2 separate regions of the Homo sapiens genome follow, and region 1 is linked to region 2. Evidence: promoter capture Hi-C in 16 types of primary human blood cells and fetal thymus (Javierre and others, 2016). All regions are on one chromosome and are shown on one strand. Each heading gives the region's core, a stretch centred on a gene start or on the middle of the fragment in contact. The rest is flanking DNA. Distances are from core to core; before and after follow the strand shown. Region 1 overlaps ARMC3 (armadillo repeat containing 3). Region 2 holds the start of PLXDC2 (plexin domain containing 2).

Evidence for each region. Contacts are between HindIII fragments. The CHiCAGO score rates a contact against its expected background, and 5 or more counts as called.
Region 1: a contact is called between a fragment that was not itself captured here and the fragment with the promoter of PLXDC2 in region 2, in 2 of 17 cell types (total B cells and naive B cells). The highest score is 10.3, in total B cells.

What each region holds. Positions count from the first base shown.
Region 1 is chr10:22,985,507-22,990,706 of GRCh38, reverse strand. The region is part of intron 10 of ARMC3 (armadillo repeat containing 3); the gene reads right to left. Among named protein-coding and RNA genes, the nearest start is that of ARMC3, 60 kb to the right of the region's middle. The HindIII fragment of the contact is 2,565 bases long and covers 2,625-5,189 here.
Region 2 is chr10:19,815,067-19,820,119 of GRCh38, reverse strand. It overlaps PLXDC2 (plexin domain containing 2), which reads right to left and starts at 3,688. Exons shown (of 14, transcript NM_032812.9): 1 at 2,929-3,688. The coding sequence starts at 3,040. LOC124902388 (a long non-coding RNA gene) reads left to right here and starts at 3,892. Exons shown (of 2, transcript XR_007062078.1): 1 at 3,892-5,053. RefSeq lists an enhancer at 3,999-4,764. The HindIII fragment of the contact is 8,470 bases long and covers 2,639-5,053 here.

The DNA of each region.
Region 1 (5,200 bases), core at 2,658-5,157, 3.2 Mb before region 2:
CAGCTCCTACCAGCTCCCTGGGGACCTACAGAACAGACCACCTCTGTGACTGTGAGTAAGCACCGGGCCTTGGTTTCCTCATCTGCAAAATGGGCATGACAATAATATTCCTTCCCCCATAGGACTGCTCTGGGATTTAATGATATATTCCACTCAAGGACTTAGCTTAATACCTGGCCGATAACTGCTAGCTTTCAACAACATCATCATCCTCTTAACATTCAGTGAGCCACAAGGGTAGAGAGTTTCAGATCATGGAAACGTAAGATCATATTGTAAAACTTGTGTGTGTGCATGAAAATTTCATTTTCAGACAATTTTTAGCTAAACAGCAAAATCTCCTACACCTGCAGAGCTAGAGCTGGGGCAGTTTCCTCAGAAATCCTACTCAAGCCTTTCACTCAAGTGTAATCAATGAGTGGTAAGGACCATTTCCAGTGTGAAGAAAAATCAAGAGAAATGATTAACATAAAAAGTCAAGGGTTGGTAAAAATAACCTTATATAGGTTTAAGTATGCTTCAAATTGGAAGTGGGGGGGGGAAATCACACAATATAAAGATTTCCTCTGAAAATCAGTAATGTTGGAAATTAAACCTGAAAGAGAGTACTAGCAACTTTAAAACGAGGTTATGCAAATATCAGTCTCTGCACTGTAGGTAATAAAAGTAGCATGGATAATTTTCTAATTGAACATTTTATGGGATTCACTTGGCCTCACAAAATCAGTAGCTAATCAAATTCAAACTGTTAGTCAAGGTCAGGTGGGCATCCACTGACATGAAATGGGGATAGGGAATCCACTTGTTCTATTGCAAAATTCAGCTTTTCATTCTCTGTTTTCCAAATTCAGTATGATTTTTCCAATCCAGTATAACCAATGTTTAGAATAAGATTCCATCAGACAGGGAGGAATCTAGGCTCTAAGGGGCAGAAAGAAAAGCATCCACTCAGTAAACTTGGACAGAAATAATGCAAGAATAATTCTCAGGTTTACCATGAGGACTTTTCCCATTTATTTTATCTATTAATTCCAGAGGACTTTTAAGGCATTAATTAACATGTTAAATACATTCTTCCAGAGCTCATCCTTAATACAAAACAAAACCTCCTAAAAACTTATGAAATTAGCTATCTTGCAAGATACTCATCTTGTGAGTATTCTAATTCAAAGGATCTAGAATTTTACAACAAAGTGATATAAATAAGAATGTAAAACAAAATCTATTATACAAAGTCAAGAGCAAAAAATCGACTCTAGAGAAACCATAATAGCAATGAGATTTCTTAGATTATGTTGTTCAAGAGTATTACATTTATCCTATCTGGTTATATAGCACAGAAGATGTCCAGCTACCGGTACAATGAATGCGTCAAAACATTTGTAAATGACTACACCTTAATAGGGGACAAAGTCAAACACAAGCATCTGTTAAACACACGTTTAGCAGTAGAATATTATCTCTAAAAGCAGCATGTTGAAATGATTTTCAGATCGGAATCTTTTAAAAATGTTTTGGAAATATTATCTTAGATACACTGGAGAGTGTTCCAAATTAAATTAACGTACGTTTCATTAAACTACAGAACCATCCTTCCATTACCTTTTTTGCCCCTCCCCCAACGTCCTCCTAATCGGCCACTAGGGGTCAGTATGAAGACGCAGTTCCTTGCATTGTTAGAAAATGGAACTCTCCGAAAATGAAAAACCCTATGCAACAAAGACAATAGCTGTACAACCTTAGCAATATTAAATGCAACCTATACATCAAGTCTACAACACGAACTTGCATTTTTCATGGGACTACGTTTTAATTTTGTAAATCACTGTGGATTATCTCTATGGTCAATGCTTCTTTAGTAAAAAGTATTCTCAATGACAGGATTACTTATGTAAGTGGGTCTGTGTAACTGGCCAAGAAGTGTGTTCTAAGAATAGGGTGTTAACATTTATTTTTCAAAGGGTGATGGGACACATGTCTAGCCATTTCATCTCTTCCTGTACAGGGATGGAGAAGGAAAAGTGGAACTTGTGGTTTGTATTTTGCTAACTTTAAGAGATTTTTCCCCCCTTCAAAATGACCATCATCATTCACTGCACTCAGCCTTCATTCCACTATGAAATATAGGCAATTCTAAGGAGAAACCATTAGCCTAAAATCAATAGAATAAAAGAAATGGTAACAATAAATACACAATACATTATCTTCCCACCAACTTTACTGAATGGGAGAGAAATTTTTCAAAAGGTTTGAAAAGTGCTTTCTATTTCTGCTGGAGAAACTTAACATTCCAGGAAATCATTAAGATCATGCCCCTCCCTGACAATACTGAAATGATTGATAAAGGACTTTGGTCACTGTGAGTAAATGCAGCACTGATTTTTGTTGAAGCACTAGATGAAGTATTGACTTTTCTTGAAACACTGTGTGAAGTTCTGTATGTGGCATACGTTCTAAAGTTTTCTCTACAAATTGCATGGCATTCTCAGGCATGATACTCCATGAATAATTCTAATAAGTATTAAAATTAGTCAATGCTTTATTTCTATATTAGCGAAAAGAATGTTTAATACTGATAATACAAAATGACAAGTTATCCATATATAACGAGGACATTCTAAGCTTCCCAAAGCACTCAAATGCACATCCATATAATTTGGGGGCATTCTATCTGTTTGTGGAGTCCCTTTGGAGTGTACTGCTTACAATTTCATCATTCCCTTGTGCGGTCCTGACCATAGGGAACACAACAGCAAGACAGTTTCTGGGGAAGAGCTTTTTGTCTCTGGTATTGTAGAAGCTGGCAATGGGCCAGTAATCAATCAATTAATTTTTCAGTCACCACTATATGTGCTAACATTTAGAACTTTCTTGGGTCACTGCTGTCATGGAAAGTCAAAAGGGGTACAAAAAATAAAAAATAAAAAGCAAAGAAATGGTAATAAAAGGGTCTCTAAGATTTAGGTAAATCACTCAGTTCTTCATGGGGATGACATGGAATAATTATGAAGAATCAGAGTTAGTGTGATCTATGTGTAAACAAGGGACTTATGATCATGCATTTACTGTAACAAAACTTCAGTTCTCACTTCTCTATAGTTATTAAAATAATTGTAGTTATTACTGTGTATATTTTTATTTTGTTCATTGCATTTTATTTCCTAAGATAATTGCATCTTTTGAAAACTGTCTAGCCAACATTTATACTAATCTTTATTAGTTCTGAACATTTATTCTAATCTTTTCATAGTTTACCAGTGGCCAAATTTAGTTAGCATTGCCAAAGGGAAGTGAAAAACACTGAACCCTTTTTCTTCTTGGAACAACTTAAACTCTAATTCTGATCAGATCCAACAGATGGCAGTGATGTTATAAAGTAATAGTTTAAAACATTCTTTTAATGTGTAGGGTCTGCTCCTCAGAGAATAAGTCTCTCAGTACTTGCATAAATAATATGGAACTTTGATATGATTAATTGGATAGAAGCATACAGGATAAATGTAACATGAAATTTAGCTGAAAACAATATTTCCTATGTCAAAAATAAACGGTTTTCTCGTTTTCAAAAGGCATTACAAATTGTTAACTGTAAAAGAGATTAGCAGTATACCAAGAAAAGATATGTGTCCAAACAACTACATTTTTCTATAAAATTCATTATTGCTTCTTGGTTTCCATTTTTATTTGTTCCTTTCTACAGGCATTGTTTTAGCCTTCACACCTTTTATTTATTCACTTAAAAATAGTTTTACTTTGCTTTCTCCTTCTTTCACTGCTAATAAGTGAATCTGGCTGTTCTTGTCCCCTTTTACTATGCCTTTATAAAAATAGTTATTTTTATTCTTATTCATTGCCTTTTCATATTTGTACCCACTTTAAGTTATCTTTATTCTGTAGATAATAATTAGAAGTATCAATAGGAGGCTCTTATAGGGAAGCCTCCACTGTTGCTTCTGTTTTCCAAGTTATATAAAAACAAAGAAAACAACACTGATGATTGCTTTCTGTTTTAAGTAATGGCCATTATTGATTGTTTGACAACAGACTTTGTTTGTCAAATAGACTTTGTTTTCATCACTTTTCTTTTACTTTTGGGTTTTTTGTTTTGTTTTGTTTTGTTTTGGGTTTGTTTTTTTTTTTTTTGTTTTTTTTTTTGAGATGGAGTCTCACTCTGTTGCCCAAGCTGGAGTGAAGTGGCGCGATCTTGGCTCACTGCAACCTCTGCCTACAGGGTTCAAGCAATTCTCATGCCTCAGCCTCCCATGTAGCTGGGATTACAGATATGCACCACCATTCCTGGCTAATTTTTGTATTTTTAGTAGAGATGGGGTTTTGCCATGTTGGCCATGCTGGTCTCGAACCCCTGACCTCAAGTAATCCACCCGCCTTGGCCTCCCAAAGTGCTGGGATTACAGATGTGAACCACCTTTGCCCGGCCATTTTTTGGTTGTATTTTTGATGTAAGCCTATTTTCCTTCGAATGCCTACTATGGGATGGACAGTGTTCTAGATGCTTGGGATGCATCAGTGAATTAAATAGATGAAGGCTGCTCCCTTCATGGATGCTAGTGGTTGGTGTGTGGCGCGGGGGGGGGGCGTGCAGTGCAGGGGTGTGGGGGTGCAGAAAATAAATGATGATAAGTGTACCAGGTGAGTTACATGCTATGTTAGAAAATGATAAGGGTATGTGAAAAGGGCAGCAGGGAAGGAGCGTTGAAAATATGCATGTGTGGAGTGCAATCTTAAGCCGTGTGGTAATGCTAAGTAGCTTCGCCAAGGTGACATTGTAACAGAGATGTAAACGGGGTGAGGGAGAGAACCACAGCCTGCATGGGAAGAGGTTTTCCAGGCAAGAGGGTGTCACTACAATGACCTAAGGCAAAATACTCCCGGAAGCGGAATTTACTTCCAGGATATATTTTATGTCTATTTTACTCTACAACATTAGCCCATTTGTAAGTAAAAGGATTCATGTTTGTTAATAATTTTTAACTACCATCCATATCCACGTATCCATAACTCAAATACCTGGAAATTTCACATAACCACAACATACACGAGAATTATCTGTGGGGGTAGGGAATGGCCTCTGAGAAGCAAAAATTATGTACATACCAAAGAGGCATCAGGCCCTCCTGTATGGCTTTTGTGTACAATTTGATAAAGCTGGGTTACCTGGAATCCAAGCTTTTCATGGACA
Region 2 (5,053 bases), core at 2,439-4,938:
AATGTTCTACACTACAATTATGTCTCAGTCCAAACTTACCCAACCTCAAGCTCCAAAACTTGTATCTGTTCTCTAAAGGAAAAAGAAACTCATATTTCATATTTTTAAAATTTTGCAGGTAGCCTCAAGTCATTGATTGATAAAATAATCAACCTGTCTTTTGTCCAACAATATGACAGATGTCCATTTTACAATAAATGTTCACTTGAATTAACCCCTCTATTATATCACTGTGCTCTAGGTTTATATGTAAACAGAAACTTTAGTGATTATGTCTCAACAGCAACACTCTCATAACAAACTCTACAAATGAGTAATATTTCAAAGTAAATTGTTTAACTCCAACAAAAGCAGGAAATAACAGAAAAATATTCAACCAGAGAAGAACAACTAAAATAAGTGTAAATTATATGATAAACATAAACTACTTCCCTCTAAAACAGAAAAGGGAATAATAGAGGAAATTAGCAGTTTATCTGCCCTCTGGTGGCAATGAAATCAACTGCAGCATTTACTAAAGTAACGCATAATAAAATGTCCCTGTTATGAAATCAGATGTTGTTCCTGTGCCAACATGTCTGTAATAAAGATCCTGATTGTTGCATGACAAACGTCAAGACTGCTGGACTTTTCCCCCCATACTGAATTTTTATATAGACTATTTTACAAATAAAGTTGTATACTTTTTTCTGTTTCACCTTGCTTTTTTTATATATTCAGTAAGCTAACCATTTAATTACAATATTTTTTTCATAAAACTACATGTAAATGATGTCCAGGAAAGAAGCTACTTCTGTTTATAAAAGTCTTCGAAAATTTGGCAAGGAATTTAAAACCATTCTTTTAAAAATCAATCCTATCAATATATGGGTTTCTAGAGTATATTTCCCATCAGAAATATTCAACTAGCTTAAAATACCAGTACACTGATGTTGAACATTTTAAGTATTTTATATTTCCCACAGCAAGGGCTTTTAATTATATGGCCAATCTTACTTTGGGATGAATTTCATCCTCAATTTCTGAACTTCTTGGCATAGCAAATGTGTGTGTATTGTGTGTGTGTGTGTGTGTGTGTGTGTGTGTGTATACATATATTCTTTTTTCAGTAACGTTACTGGAACAGGTTTATAAAAAGATAAACATTTGCTGGCATTTATTTTTTTTTCCTTTACTGCAAATGCATTATTTATTCCTAGTGCCAAAGAAGTTTTTAAATAAACAACTTGGGATGCACATTGGCACACACATCCTTTTAACCTCGTTTGTGGTGGAGTTAATTGTTTTTATTAAGCATCTATTCATACCGTGAATAAGTACATGAAAATTACTGTTGCAATTTTTAAATAACTGTGTCCTTTCCTGGAAGGCTAAAAGTGTTATTTTTTCGGACCAATGAAACGTATCAGAGAAATAAACAAAAGGCATAGTCTACTGTCATAAATCATACACAGTCAAGAACAACCTATGTCCATTAATGCAGAACAATTAAATGTGACAAAGACAAGTCAACACCCAAGAAATCTGCATTTTGTTCTCAGCTTTAAAAGTGTTGTCATCCTATTGCCTCCCTGCACATACACCCCAACACACACACCCCTTCAACCATAAATAAGAGCGCAGAGTCAGTATCTGTGCTTTATCTAGAACAGTTTACACCAGGGACAGGCGAAGTGTTGTGACTGTCTTCTAAGTCGCGGCTTGGTAAATTTCACTCAAGGGTTTCCTTCAAGATCTTCAAGATTCACCTTGCCTGGAATCCCCAGGTGTCCCCCAACCTTCCATCTGTGACTCTCTAGTTGACTGTTGAGGACGCATGCATACTTTCCGGGCAATCATTTAAATTACACACACACACACACACACACACACACACACACACACACACACACCAGAAAAGAACAAATTGACAAATTGATTATCCTAGGGAGAAAGTTTTCGTTTTCTTTTCTTTTCCCTCCAAGTTTTTTCTTTTTTCTTTTTCTCTCGTTTCACCTCCTCTCGAAGTCCACCCTAGTTCACCAATTTCTGCCAAGATCTCTTTCTGCCTGTGTCTTCACTTTCTTCACTGAAAGGCAGAAATGGGGAGTAGGCACCCAGTTCGCGGTGGGCAGGGTTCCAGGAGGCAGCTCCCGCTCGGCGATAGCCCCCGGGGCGCAACTCCCCGCAGGACGCGCACCTGCCAGGACAGCCACTAAGAGGATGCGGAGGTTGGGGGCCCTCTCGGGGACAAAATCAGGGCACTCCAAGGAACTCTCTGCGCGTTCAGGCCTGTCTGTGAAGCTGGCAGGCGGAGGACAATGGGAGCAGGGGTAGGTCTCCAGAGGCGAGCCCGCCTCCACCTTTCCCACCTGCTCCCCACCTCTGCGCCGGCCGCATTTACCCCGCCCCCCTTCCAGCGCCCGCTTGGCCCAGGTCACTAGACGGAGCTAGTGGGGATCGCCAGGGGAAGGAAGGTGCTGCCACAGGGAATTTTCTCGTGCAGAGGGGAGACCTGCAATCCCTGGCTTTCACAACGTCCCCCACCCACCCCATACCACACACGCTTAGTTTAACCAGCAGCGAGGAAGGAGGAGGAGCCGGAGAGCACACAGCCTGGAGATGCCAGGTCCTAGGAGATGTATCCACGGAAGAAGCTTTGCTCTCACACTGAAGCCCTCCCTGGGCTACTTTGGGGAGACAGTACCACCCCCTGCCGCCCAGGTGAAGTAAGCCCGAAAGCCTCAAGAAAACCCCTAGTCCCCGGCGTCCTTCTCTTGATAACCCTCTTTCCCCATTTGGGAAGCCTAAGTTTAGCCGAAAAGCAACTGCAATAAGTTTCCCAAGGGCAGATAGGTGATGTTGGGGGGAGAGGGTAGGGAGCACGAGAGTGCCAGAGAGGTCTTCAGCTGCGCACAAAATCAGCAAGCTAAAGTGCATCTTACTTACCAAGGATTTGGTCTCCGGGTTTCCCATCGGCGAACTGAAACTGGTCCGTGAAGAAGTGGCAAAGTAACATAACTCCTGCAGCGGCCAGGTCGGCCTTCGGGAACCTCGCCATGCCGCCGCCGCCACCTCCCTACCCCACCCGCCAGTCCTTCGCCGGTGCTCGGGGGCTCCCGATGCAATAGGCACGACCGGGCCAAACGCTGCGGATCGGTCTCGGTAGGACCCGGAGGCCTTTGTAAATGTCGCTGCGATTTCACAGTAGGGAACCGAGAAGAGGAAGAAGCGAACGCGAGTAGGAGCGCAGCGCTCTTCGGACCTCTGAGGCTCTCTTTGCAACTTGCCACACTCGCAGCCCTCACCCGACACTGAACAACAACCGCGGGGAGGAGAGGCCACTTGCAGCCGAGGCTCGCAAACTGTCGGTTCCACTCGGGCAGCGCCAACCCGGTGCCCGCGGACGGTGACTTCCGAGCCCCAGCGATGCGCTCCACTGGGTTCAAAACAGATCTAATTCCACAGCCAGCGCCGCTGCCTGCCCCAGATCCACTAGGGCTGGTCGGCTCTGCAGGAACTTTCCTCTGTCTAGGGATGGCCCCGGCAGGAGGTTTAGGTTTGCGGGAAGGAGGTTGATGACGAAACCCTCCCGACAAGTTTTGCTTCTTTTCTTCGCCCGACGCAGGGCGCGCGTCCTTTCTCGCAGCCGGAGGAATGGGCAGCTCCAAAGAGCTGAGCCCTGGGAAGGTTAGGGCTGCAGCAGTCTGAGGTCCGAAGCCAGGAAAAAAATGTGTTTAAAAAAAAAAAAAAAAAAGAGGAAGAAGAAAGGAAAAGGGTGGAGTGGGAGGGAGTCACGCTGGAACCTATCGGGAGAGGGTTCCTCCGGGCTCAGGAGGAGGTGGCCCCAAGCCCCCGCGGAGCCCCAGGAGTTTGGTGGCGGAGGAGGCGCTGCCGTCGCCACGCTCCCCCGCGCTCCTTCTCCACACTTTGAGGAGGGAAGGCAGCTCGCAATTTGCCAGATCTGCCGCCGCACCCTCCTCCCTCCTCCCTCCGCCCTCCCCTTCGCTCCTCCAGGCTTCTCCCACCTTCCTCCCTGAAACCGGCAGCCCGCACAGACCTGTCCAATGGCTGCACTTTCCTCGGGGCTGGCTGAGGAGTCGCGGCCAACAGATTAAGCCGGGGGAGCCTAGCGAAGGGGAGGGAGAGGGCCACTCCAGCCCCGTGCGCCCCAGGCAGCCGGCTGCCCCAGAGCGCGGGGAGAGGGGACAGGCCGGGGAGCTATCGGGGGAGCGCGGGGCGGTACCTCCGCGCCGCCGGGGCGCCATCCTCGCAGCCTGCTCGCACGCCCTGGGCAGCTCCGCCAACTGCGCCCCACACCCACCTGGCTCCCGGGCCGCCTTCGCGCCCGACTGCGGGGGGCGATCGCGCCCCGCCCCGACCCTGGCGGGGTCTCCCTGGGCACGAAAGGGTTAACCACAGCTCGCCCCTTCGCGGAGGCTGGTTCTGGTAGTGGCTAGGGAGTGGAGAAAGCAAACCAGAGCCGGTTCGGTTACCGACTCTGCGAAGCCCCCTCGACCCCAGCCCAGCGCGGGAGGGTGGCGGAAGGTGGTGCACCGCAGCGTGGTCCCCGCCGCTGCCGCCGCGGCTTTGCAAAGTGTCAGCGGGGGCGAAAGCGAGAGTTTAAAGGAACAGGAGGCCCATTGAATTTCCTACCGGAGCTTTCAGGGGCTCTGGCTCCCCAGTTTGTTTTTGTTTTTTCAGCTCGGGGATCTGTTTCCGCGTTAACCCTTGCCGGCCCTCTCGTTAGTTGATATCTTATTTTGCATACAGTTAATCATTTTTGAAAGGGATAAATACAAGGAAAAGAAGCAAAGCGCTATTGGTTAAAAGTACAGGATCTAGAGCCCGGACAGCCTGGGCTGGAATTTCACCTCCCCCGCAATGAGCAGTTTATCTCCTAGCCTCAGTTATCCATCCATCAAATGGAGAGAATTAGAGTAACGCCCTTATAAGGTGGTTGCAATGGATTGGATGAGTTAACTGTATATTTAATAAATATAGAACATTGCCTACCGCAAAGTACATGGCTTTGTTTAAGTGTTTACTGAAGCAAAAGTGAGAGAAGACGACT